Linked DNA regions of Homo sapiens: region 2 is linked to region 1. Evidence: promoter capture Hi-C in human tissues and cell types (Jung and others, 2019). All regions are on one chromosome and are shown on one strand. Each heading gives the region's core, a stretch centred on a gene start or on the middle of the fragment in contact. The rest is flanking DNA. Distances are from core to core; before and after follow the strand shown.

Evidence for each region. The method cuts DNA at HindIII sites, captures the fragments that hold promoters and counts their contacts. A contact is called where the count stands out against the background at its distance.
Region 2: the fragment with the promoter of SLC30A4 here is called in contact with the fragment with the promoter of SHF in region 1 in 1 of the 25 tissues and cell types used here (dorsolateral prefrontal cortex).

What each region holds. Positions count from the first base shown.
Region 1 is chr15:45,185,554-45,191,190 of GRCh38, forward strand. SHF (Src homology 2 domain containing F) reads right to left here and starts at 2,413. Exons shown (of 7, transcript NM_001394037.1): 1 at 1,901-2,413. The coding sequence starts at 2,398. It overlaps LOC124903481 (a long non-coding RNA gene), which reads left to right. Exons shown (of 2, transcript XR_007064608.1): 1 at 1-905; 2 at 2,562-3,265. RefSeq lists an enhancer at 841-1,393 and a silencer at 2,308-2,357. The HindIII fragment of the contact is 29,845 bases long and covers 1-5,637 here.
Region 2 is chr15:45,520,530-45,526,166 of GRCh38, forward strand. It overlaps SLC30A4 (solute carrier family 30 member 4), which reads right to left and starts at 2,226. Exons shown (of 8, transcript NM_013309.6): 1 at 2,078-2,226; 2 at 1,435-1,939. The coding sequence starts at 1,825. It also overlaps the pseudogene HMGN2P46. RefSeq lists a silencer at 1,929-2,418. The HindIII fragment of the contact is 11,317 bases long and covers 1-5,637 here.

The sequences.
Region 1 (5,637 bases), core at 1,163-3,662:
CATTAAAGAAACCACAGATTGTATGGCTCCTGGGAGAGCCTGCTGGATTTCATTCCTGTCCCTGTAGCTGACAAAGGAGTCAGACATCTCTTGGCCCCTAAGTCTGAACAGCACACAGATCACAGAGCTGACCCAAGCTGAGGCATGGAGGCCCTTGGCAAGAAGAGGCTGTGAGTCTCTGCATAGAACTGTGTGGGTGCACCCCTTCCTTGGGGGTGTCTGGGAAAATGTGCAAGGGAAGCTGTGGCTAGGGGAGTCTCCGACCCTCACGCCACCCTGATAATGGACAGTCACCATTCAGGACATATTTATGTACCCTTTTTTATGTCAAGCATTGTGTCAGGCACTTGGGAGACACAAGAAGACATGGTCTGTGTCCTGGAGGAGCCCATGGCTTGGTGGGCAGCCTGTTAGGGCATCCAAGCCACTGTAGAGAGGAGAAGGGCCAAAGACAGCTCAGGCCCATGTTGCCTGTGCCAAACAGGCAGTGGTTAGAGAGGAGGAGACTGACTGGTCAGTGGGAAGAACAGGGCCTATCCCTCTCCTCTGTCTCACTGTCACTACCTCCATCACATCACACAATAGCAGGGGACAAGAAGCAGACGAGCACAGCCTTGGAGAAGTGCCCTTGAACCTTCCTCTGCAGAATAAGTATCCTGGCCCAGGATGGGCAGCCATGCCCCATGGCAAAAACTAGGGGAAAAATAATTTGCATTCCTGAGGCTTCTGCTCTGACCCTGACAGATCTCTCTCATCCAGGAAATCTGGCGGAACGGCGCTCTCTCAGCTAAAAAGCCTCAATCCTGGAGCCAACGGATTCGGAAAGCAACTTTGCACTCCAATCAAATAAAAATGTTCTTCTCTGCTGAGGAGAAGGGGGCAGGCCCCAGAACTGAGCTCTCGGGGTGAGTGAAGAAGGACAGCAGAGCCAAGGCAGCCCACAGAGTCATCATCACAGAATTTAGGGGCCTGGGATGGCTTTCAGCTCTCACTCTGCCAGGGAGGGATAAGGCCAACCCGAATCAGGGCAGGGCCCTGAGGCATGGTGGATTTCCTGTTCTCCTCCCTATCCTGGTGCCTGCAGACCCAGGAAAAGCTCCAGCCTCCCTCAGAATGGACCAGGGGGAGAGGGAGGCCAGGAGGAGAGGAGGAATGGGCTCAGCTGCTTAGCCCCATGTGGGCAACAGGTCCTGAGCACTGACTATCCTCATACCTGAGAGGACGAGGGAAGGAGGGAGGAGTGGGCCTGGACCCCACGAAGCCCCCTTGGCAAGAGCTGTAAGCTGCCTGTCTTCGCCTCCTGAGAACAACAGCCTATAGGGCAAAGGCCAGCTCGTGCTGTGTCCGCAAGGAGAAACCCGTCTTCACCTCCTTTCTGGGGCTTCAGCACCTGCAAGGATGCTTAGGCTGGAGAAACAGGAGGAGGAAGAGGAGGAGGAAGCAAAGAGGCAACAGGAGGGAAGAGCTTTGTGCTGGCTATGCCCAGGGGGAAGGGTCAGAGATCAAAGGGCACTGAGCCGCTGCTTCCAGAGGGGCAGAAAGGCCATCAACCAGTGGGGGTTGGGAGGTGCGCCTCAATTCCCGTTAGCAAAAGGCTCATGGATCAGGCTAGAGGGGGCTACGAAGTGGAGAGCCAGCCCGGGAGGGGGAGGGTCACCAGTTCTGGGGCCATTACAAAGGATAGGGCAGAGGGGCAGAGTTTGGGGCTTCCGTCTCAGATTAGTCGGTTGAGAATCTGAACAAAGGTGGGTGAAGGCTCGGAACCCCGGGGTCAGGGGCTCGCGTCTGCCAGAAGCTGAGACACCGAGGGGCCCGGGCCAGGCCACCTTTGTCCCTCTCGCAGCCTCCAGACCCCTGACCGCCTTCCCTCCTGGCCATCCCGGCCCGGCGCGGCACTCACCCTATCGCTGCTGGCGGGGGGTCCGGAGATCCGCTCATCAGCAGGCGGCGCCGGGGGCCCCGGGGTCTCGACCCGAATAAGGCGGTGTGGGGGAGAGCCGTGGCGCGGGGGCGGCGTGGGTCCGGGGGCGACAGGGGTGGCGAGGGCGGCGGAGCCGGACGACCCCCCGGAGTAGGGGTCTTCGAAGTCGCGCTCCCGCTGCAGCCTGTAGGCGGCCAGGATGTCCGGGGGCGGCGCGGGGGGCGCGGCCGGAGAGGGCGCAGGGGGGCGGTAGTCGGGCTCGGGGGGCGCCGGCTTGCTGCCCCCTCCGCCGCCGCCCCCCCCGCGGAAGCCCAGGTGCTCCCGGAGCCACTTGGCTACTCCGCCGCTGCCGCCCCCTCCTGGGCCGGCTCCCGCACCCCCGGCGCCCCGGCGGGACCCCCCCGGGCCGCCCCCAGCGCTCCCCTGCGTTCGCGGCCCCGGGCGGGAGCCAGCCGGAGGAGCTCCGCTCAGTAACATGGGGCCAGCCAGACTGAGCGAGGGGAGCGCAGCGGCGGGTGGGGGGCGGGGGCGGGGGTGGGGAGGGGGGCGGGGCTCCGCCGGGCGGGGAGGGGGCGGGGCGCTTCAGTAACAAGGGAGAGGCGGGGCTCCGCTCCCTAACAGGGTCTTCCTCCTCCCGTAGCTCGGAAGAGTGTACGCGGGCTTCCAGCCGGTATGCACAGGCAAGAAGTGAAGTGGGCAGCCCTGGGGCAGAGGATGCGACTACTGGACTGAGGTTGAATCCTTTACGTGTCGCCACGCGGTCCCCTGTGGGGAGCGCATCCATCCCCATCTGTTCTTTTCCCCAGCTCCCAGCTCGTGCGAGACGCAAAGAGGGGAGCCCCCAGACTCCTGACTCTAGGGAGCCTTACGCCTCTCCTCTTCCCTCTCCCAGGATCTCGCAACTGGGAAACTATAATCTAGGAGGAAAATCTAGGCGGGCAAGAAAAGGGGCTAGGTTCTGTAAGATGTGTCTGTAAGCCTCCTCCTCCCGTGCTACCTTGGGAGCCCCACAACCTCCTCCCATCCAACCGTACGCACTGCACATACCCGAACCTACGTTACTTCCCGATCCAGGCAAACACATCTCACATCACATACAAACAACTCCCTAGAGACGCCCACTTCTCCCGTGTCGTTTTCACACACGCCCTTCTCACACGCAAACAGCCCTCGCTCAAACATCCCCCACCCACGGGAGCACCTGCTCCAAACGGGCCCACATGGCCCTGACGATAGCATGCGCACGCACGCAGAAATCCCTTCCAGCCACATCCCGGGCTTCATTGTCAATCAGATTAGTAACAGAATGGAAACAGACAAGTCAATAAATCAAGTCTAGAAACAGTCCCAGTGTTGTCTATCACAAACTCCTTATCCTCTTGAGGCTCAGATGCTCAAGTGCTAGGCATTTTTGTCTTAGAAATAAAGCCAGTTCCGGCTGGGCGCGGTGGCTCACGCCTGTAATCCCAGCACTTTGGGAGGCCGAAACGGGAGGATCACGAGGTCAGGAGATCGAGACCATCCTGGCTAACACGGTGAAACCCCGTCTCTACCAAAAATACAAAAAAATTAGTCGGGTGTGGTGGCGGGCACCTGTAGTCCCAGCTACTCGGGAGGCTGAGGCAGGAGAATCGCTTGAACCCAGGAGGCAGAGGTTGCATTGAGCTGAGATTGCGCGACTGCACTCCAGCCAGGGCGACAGAGTGAGACTCCGTCTCAAAAAAAAAAAAAAAAGAAAAAGAAAAAAGAAAAGGAAAGAAATAAAGCCAGTTCCTCACCATAAATGTAGGCCTGAAGCCAACACCAACACATTTGCTCTTGGCTCTGCTGGGAAAGCAGCTGTCTCACCTCACTTTACCCCACCCCCTTTCCCCCACTGCCTCAGTGTCTCCGCACTCCTAGGTTCATGTCTGCCTTTTTTTTTTTTTTTTTTTTTTTGAGACGGAGTCTCACTCCGTCGCTGGAGTACAGTGGCACGATTTCAGCTTACAGCAACCTCCACCTCCCGGGTTCAAGCAATGCTCCCAGCTCAGCCTCCCTAGTAGCTGGGATTACAAGCGTGCGCCACCACACCTGGTTAATTTTTTGTATTTTTAGTAGAGATGGAGTTTCACCGTGTTGGCTAGGCTGGTCTCGAACTCCTGACCTCAAGTGATTCCCCACCTCGGCCTTCCAAAATGCTGGGATTACAGGTGTGAGCCAACGGCACCTGGCCATATCTGCCTTTTGAGGGCGCAAAAAGCCAAGAGGCCCCAAAGGAAAGGAGTTCAAAGCGGGGGGTGTAAAGAAGGATGTAATGGCAAAACTGTGAATCTCCTGGGATTCCCAGGGCCCCGAGTCTCAAAATATTTGTTGAGTTCCTGCTTTGTGCAAATTCTAGTTGGGCGAGGTGGCTCATGCTTGTAGTCCCAGGTACCTGGGAGGTTGAGGTGGGAGAATTGCTTGAGCCCAGAAGTTCAAGGCTGCAGCGAGCTATGATTGTGCCACTGGTCAGACAGTGCTGCTTGTATTTAGGACAGTGCTTCTGATCAAGCCAGTGCTGCTTGTATTTAGGACAGTGCTTCTCAAACTTTAATGTGGACACTAATCTCCTGGGGATCTTGGTAAGTTACAGATTCTGACTCTCTAGGTCTAGCTGGGGTGGGGTCCCAGGTGATACAGATACTGCTGGTCCCAGACCACATGTTGAGTAGCTGGACTGTAGGAGATACTGGAGAATCTGATGTTGAACTTGGTTTTATGAAGTATAATAGAGAAAATAACGTGCATATTTTTAAAATGTGCAGTTAAATTGACTAATGGTGCAAAACGAAGCTGGACATAGAGATGATAAATAGAGAAGAATGGTCCAGTTAATGTATATCAGAGAGTCTCCACAGTCACCAGGTGTGAGGGCATGGATAGGTAACTAATAAGAAATCCAATAGTTGTGGGCTGTAGCCAGGTATTTGGGGAAGGTACTCAATGCTACTGATACTTGCTTTCATGATCTCTGGAAAGGGCGTGATAATCATTGTGTGAGGATTAAGGGAGGTGATGAATATGAAAAAGGTTTGAAAACTGTAAAATGCTTACAGTGGAAGGTGTGACATGAGTTAAACTGCTTGACAGCTCAGAGGAATGAAATCAATCAAGTCTGCAGGCTTCATGCAGGACAGGAGGTAGACCTGAGCTGGGTAGGATTTGGACAGATGAAGCAAAGGAGTGAAAGGTCATTCCAAGACAGGAGGTCGGCATTAGCTGGACAAAGGCATAGAGGTGGGAACCCGCACACCATAAAAAAGGGGAGTATTCATGATGGGAAGAGTAGGAATAAAATAAGATGGGAAGGAGGGAAGATGTCATAAAGGCAGGGTTTAAACAATAATTTTAAAATTATAAAAACTTGTGTGCACCATACACTTACTCTTGTTTTAAAAGATCTGCTAATGTACTTTCCTCCATTACCAGAGTATGAGCTCCTAAAAGCAGGCAGTTTGAGCACCTCATGGAGTCAGGCAGCTTGATAGGAACCAAGGATACAGAGGTGAGGCCATCACAGCAAGGGTCCTCTGAGAATTGGGTGGAATTTTCTAGATCCAAATTCTGTTTACCTTTTCTTTCCTTTAGAGATGGGGTCTCACTCTCTTACCCAGGCTGGAATGCAGTGGCACAATCATAGCTCACTGCAGCCTTGAACTTCTGGGCTCAAACGATTCTCCTACCTCAACCTCCCG
Region 2 (5,637 bases), core at 976-3,475, 330 kb after region 1:
CTCCCAAAGTGCTGGGATTAAAGGCGTGAGCCACTGCACCCGGCCGGGGTGTCTTTTTAAATAAGACACGAATGACAAGAAACTGGCCAAGAAAAGATTTGGGAAAGGCAGTCTATGTAAAGCAGTGTTTTTCAAGCTAAGGCCCTGACCTACTGCAGTGGACACACGAAATCCATTTAGTGAGCTGGGACCACAATTGAAGAAACTATTAGGATACATCACATGAAGGAAAACTTTTGTTTCAGTTATACATATATTTATACACATGTGACCTGTGTATATTCTCATACATATGTATGCATGCATGCCTAAATGAGTCACAATGTGAAGTGTATTTCTTACTACAGTGAGGTCAAAAAATGTTTGAAAGCCACTGAGATAGAAGGACCAGCCACTTTGAACGCCTTAGAGGCAAAAAGAGCTTTGTGAGTTGTAAGAGGAAAAAGAAGACCAGCATGGCTGAAGCGAGCCCTGGGGAGGAGTGTTATGAAAGAAGGTAGGAAATGTATATAATTTTTCCCACATAGAACCCTCCAGTCAAACATCTTAAATCTGGACTGCCACCTGTTTTTGTCATGGTTCATCATTTAAGAGATGACATGTAAGAATCATCTCCCTGCTTTTATGTCACTTTGTAAACTGTCACTGAGAAGTTAGTAGTTATACTGACGTGATTGAAAATAACCTCTAAACTAAGAATGTATCTTATATTGAGAACGGATTGTTCGTATAATTAAAAAATGAACAAGAAAACCAGGCTCATAGAACTTTGGCGGAGTCCTCTGGTTCATTTCAGGCCCTTCTTACGAGGCAAAAATTTCATGTTAGTTGGTAATTAATTTTGCAAATCTCTTGGCTATAAATACAAAAGGAAATCGTATAAAAGAAACCACTTAGGTCAAATGTAGAGGAAAAAAATGCTGGGACTGTAGATGTGGCTCTTCCATTAACTCCCTAAGTGGCCCTCACGACTTATTCCACTGGTTTGTGCCCTGGAAATCCTTACATGTAAAAAAAAAAAGGAGGTGGAGCAGGTGTTCAGTAAGGTCCCTTCATACTGTAAAATTCTATGATCTTAAGTTATTTACGATCATTTACTATTTTAAACGTTGCGAAAATTAACCTGGTATTTTACCAGACCTTTGTAAAAAGAGGAAGTTACATGACATACAATGAAGATAACGTCCTTAACTTTACGGTAGATGACAGTGGTTGAACAACTAGAAGAGAAAGTCAAAGTTATCTCGGGGAGTTTATATTGTACTTAGATTGAGCTGCACTTTGGAACCGTGTGGCCTTTTCACATGAGATCAGTGTCTTGATAAATACAAACTTCCTGAAAAGATGGGTTAAACCTCAAAGCCTGTGTAACTACAGCTTGACAAAGACTCTCGAGGAAAGGTAAACGGAAAGTGAGTTGGCAACACAACTCACCTACAAGTTCTCCAATCATGAAAAGCAAGTACAGAACGGCAGCAATGGTCAACCTGGCTTTCACCTTTCTCTGCTTCAGTATCTCTCTCTGTTTGCTGCAGTTGTCACAGGAGTCCACCTTCAAACTCAGCTGACTGTTGGTCAAAGGTAAGTCTTGGTCCAGTAAGGAATCATCGTCGGCCTGGAGGGTCGGGTGCGCCCCGTTAACAGGCCTTTCCGGGGCTTCGGAACCGTCATCGGCCACCACAACTCGAAGTTTGTTGAACCGAGAAAGCCCCTCGTCCCCCGCCTCATCCGAGAAGTCAAAGGCGCTGGTGTCATTTAAAAACAGCGGCGCATCATCCTTCCTTAGCATAGATTTGAGGCGCTTCCACGCGCCAGAGCCGGCCATGGCAGAGGCTGAGCGGCCGCGGTGCGGAACGGCTTGGGGGAGGCGGACGGCCGGCGGCGCCTACTTCACCGGAGCGCCAGTTCTCGAGGGCAGTGCCGCGCGTCCCTCCCCATCCTGTGGAAAACGAAACACGTTATAAATTAAAGGCGCCCAACCCTGTCCTCAAGTTCCGAAGCCGCTGGCGGCGGGTCGCAGGGCCGACCCCGACGCTCCGCCGGGGCTCCGCGAGGGGGCGGCACATCTATTTAATACCTGGGGCGCTGCCGCGGGGCCGCAACTCATCTCCCCGCCCCCGGCCGGCTCAGCGAGGCGGGCTCGCGCTGCTCCACCCGCGGCCGCAGGAGAGTGGGGTCGTGCTCGCGCCCGCCGCGCCCGCTGCTGGAGGCCGGCTCCCCAGGTCTGACAGGTTCGGGGCCGGACGCCCACAGCCACCGCCTCTCCCCGCCCTGCGCGAGGCCACGCGCGTGCGCCGGGCGAGGCGCGCGAGGGAGGGGTCGGCGCGAGGACACGCAGGCCTGGCGCGCAGGGCTGGGGCGCCCGCGATGGGCGGGGGCGCGCGGCGCGCCCCGCCTCTCGCCCCGAGGCTGGATTGGGGGCCACTGCGCCGCCTCCGCCCAGGGGTCACTCACTGGCCAACTGAGGGGACTTTGGGCGGCCTCTTCCACCTTCCCAGGCTGGGAGGCAAGTGCGGTCGGAGGGTCACGCCGGGGGCTGGGCGTTGCTGCTAGGAGTTCCCTCCACCGAAAGTGTGTCTCAGGAATCTCGGGTCGGGATCTGGGTTGCGGGTGCTCGGCAGAAGACAAACCCAGCACTTTTCTTGCTAACTGAAAAGGCAAGCAGCTTTTCTCTCCTCGAATTGCTTGTCTCTGGCAAATTGGCAACATTTGCTGCAGTCAACTGGAGAGGGCAAGGCTGTCGTCGTCAGCAGTTCTGTGTCCTACTGTTTTTCAGCAAATATGTATTGTCCTCTTTGTGCTCTCTGCCGTGTTCCTTTTGCCTCCAAGGTATTTACGATATGGACTAAACTCAAGCATAGAAAATCTAGTACAGGCATACCTTGGAGATACTGCGAATTTGGTTCCAGACCACCGCAATATGACAAAGTGAGGTCTCACAAATGTTTCATGTCCCAGTGCAAATACAATCATGTTTATAATGTAGTCTATTAAGCGTGTAATAGCGTTATGTCTAAAACAATGTGCATACCTTAATTTAAAATATTGGGAGAGAGGAAGGAAAAAGTATATATACATTTGTTAATTGCTCTGAGGAAGGAGGGTCGCATGAGCCCAGAGGTTCGAGATTACAGTGAGCTATGATTGTGCCTCCGCACCCCTGCCTGGCGACAGAGTGAGACCTTGTCTCTAAAAATAAACAAGTAAATAAAATACATGACTGCTAAAAAAATGCTATCAGCTGGGCGTGGTGGCTCACGCCTGTAATACCGGCCCTTTGGGAAGCCGAGGCGGGCGGATCACCTGAGATGGGGAGTTCAAGACCAGCCTGACCAAAATGGAGAAACCCTGTCTCTACTAAAAATACAAAATTAGCTGGGCATGGTGGCGCATGCCTGTAATCCCAGCTACTAGGGAGGCTGAGGCAGGAGAATCGCTTGAACCCGGGTGGCGAAGGTTGTGGTGAGCCGAGATCACGCCATTACACTCCAGCCTGGGCAAGAAGAGCAAAACTCGGTCTCAAAAAAAAAAAAAGCTATCAATCATCTAGGCCTTTAGCAAGTCATATTCTTTGCTAGTTGGAGGGTCTTTGCTCCTTGTTAATGGCTGCTGACTGATCTGGATGGTGGCTGCTGAAGGTTGGGGTGGCTGTGGCAATTCCTTAAAATAAGACAACAATGACATTTGCTATATTGATTGACTTGTTTTCATGAAAGAGTTCTTGATGGCGTGTGATGCTGGTTGATAATATTTTACCCACAGTGGACCTTTCAAAATTGGAGTCAATCCAGTTTTCTCAAACCCTGCCTCTGCTTTATCAACTAAGTTTATGGAATATTCAAATCCTTTGTTGCCATTTCAACAGTGTTCACAGCATCTTCACAAGGAGTAGATTCTATCTCAAGAAACCACTCTCTCTGCTTATCTATAAGAAGCAACTCCTCATCTGTTCAAATTTTATGAGATTGCAGCAATTCAGTCACATCTTCAGGTTCCACTTCTAGTTCTCTTGCTATTTCCACCACATCTACAGTTACTTCCTCCATTGAAGTCTTGAATCCCTCAAAATCATCCATTAGGGTTAGAATCCACTTCTTCCAAAATCCTGTTAATATTGATATTTTGACCTCCCATGAATCACGAATGTTCTTAATGGCATCTGGAATGCTGAATCCTCTCCAGAAGTTTTTCAATTTACTTTACCTAGGTCCATCAGAGGAATCAATGGCAGCTATAGCCTTATGAAAGGTATTTCTTCTTTTTTATTCATTTATTTTTATTTTTAGATGGTGTTTCACTCTTGTTGCCCAGGCTGGAGTGCAATGGCGCGATATCGGCTCACCGTAACCTCTGCCTCCCGATTTCAAACTATTCTCCTCCCTCAGCCTCCCAAGTAGCTGGGATTACAGGCATGTGCCACCACGCCTGGCTAATTTCGTATCTTTAGTAGAGATGGGGTTTCACCATGTTGGCCAGACTAGTCTCGAACTCCCGACCTCAGGTGATCCACCTGGGTCGACCTTCCAAAATGCTGGGATTACAGGCATGAGCCACCGCGCCCGGCCAGTCACCCAGGTTTTGTTCCATTTATAGAGCACAGGTAGAGTAGATTTAGAATAATTCCTACGGGCCCTAGAATTTTCGGAATGGTAAATGAGCATTGGCCTTAACTTAAAGCTACGGGCTGCATTAGCCTCTAACAAGAGAGTAAGATTGTCCTTTGAAGCTTTGAAGCCAGGCATCAACTTCTGTCTAACTATGAAAGCCCTAGGTGGAATCTTCCAATAGAAGGCTGTTTCCCCTGTATTGAAAATCTGTTGTTTATTGTAGTCACCTTTAATGATCTTAGCTACACCTTGTGGACAACTTGTTGCAGTTTCTCCATCAGCATTTGCTGCTGCTTCTTGCACTTTTATGTTATGGAGATTGCTTTTTTCCTTAAATCTCATGAACCGACCTCTGCTAGCTTCAAACTTTTCTTTTTTGTTAAAAAAATTATTTAATTTATTTATTTTTAAATAGAGACAGGGTCTCACTATGTTGCCCAGGCTGGTCTGGGTATTTCTAATTTCCTTCAAGAACCTTCCCATTTCCCAGAGTCAAGTGATAAAAGTTTAATACAAACAAACAAACAAACCCAAACAATAAAAAAGAACTTTTCATTTGCATTCACAACCTGGGTAAGAAAAGGCATAGTGCAGGGCATGGTGGCTCACGCCTGTAATCCCAACACTTTGGAAGCCTGAGGCAGGCGGATCACCTGAGGTCAGGAGTTCGACACCAGCCTGGTCAACATGGTGGACCTCTACCATAGTAGAGACAACCCTGTCTCTACTAAAAATACAAAAATTAGCTGGGTGTGGTGGCATGTGCCGAGTAGCTCCCAGCTGCTTGGGAGGCTGAGGCAGGAGAATCGCTTGAAGCTGGGAAGCGGAGGTTGCAGTGAGCCTCGCACCATTACACTCCAGCCTAGACGACAGAGCAAGACTCCGTCTCAAAAAAAAAAAAAAAAAAAGAAGAGGCATAGCTTTCAGCCTATCTCAGCTTTCTTTCTTTTTTCTTTCCTTCCTTCCCTTCCCTCCCTTCCCTTCCCCCCTCCTTTCCCCTTCCTTCCTTCCCCTTCCCCCCTCCTTTCCC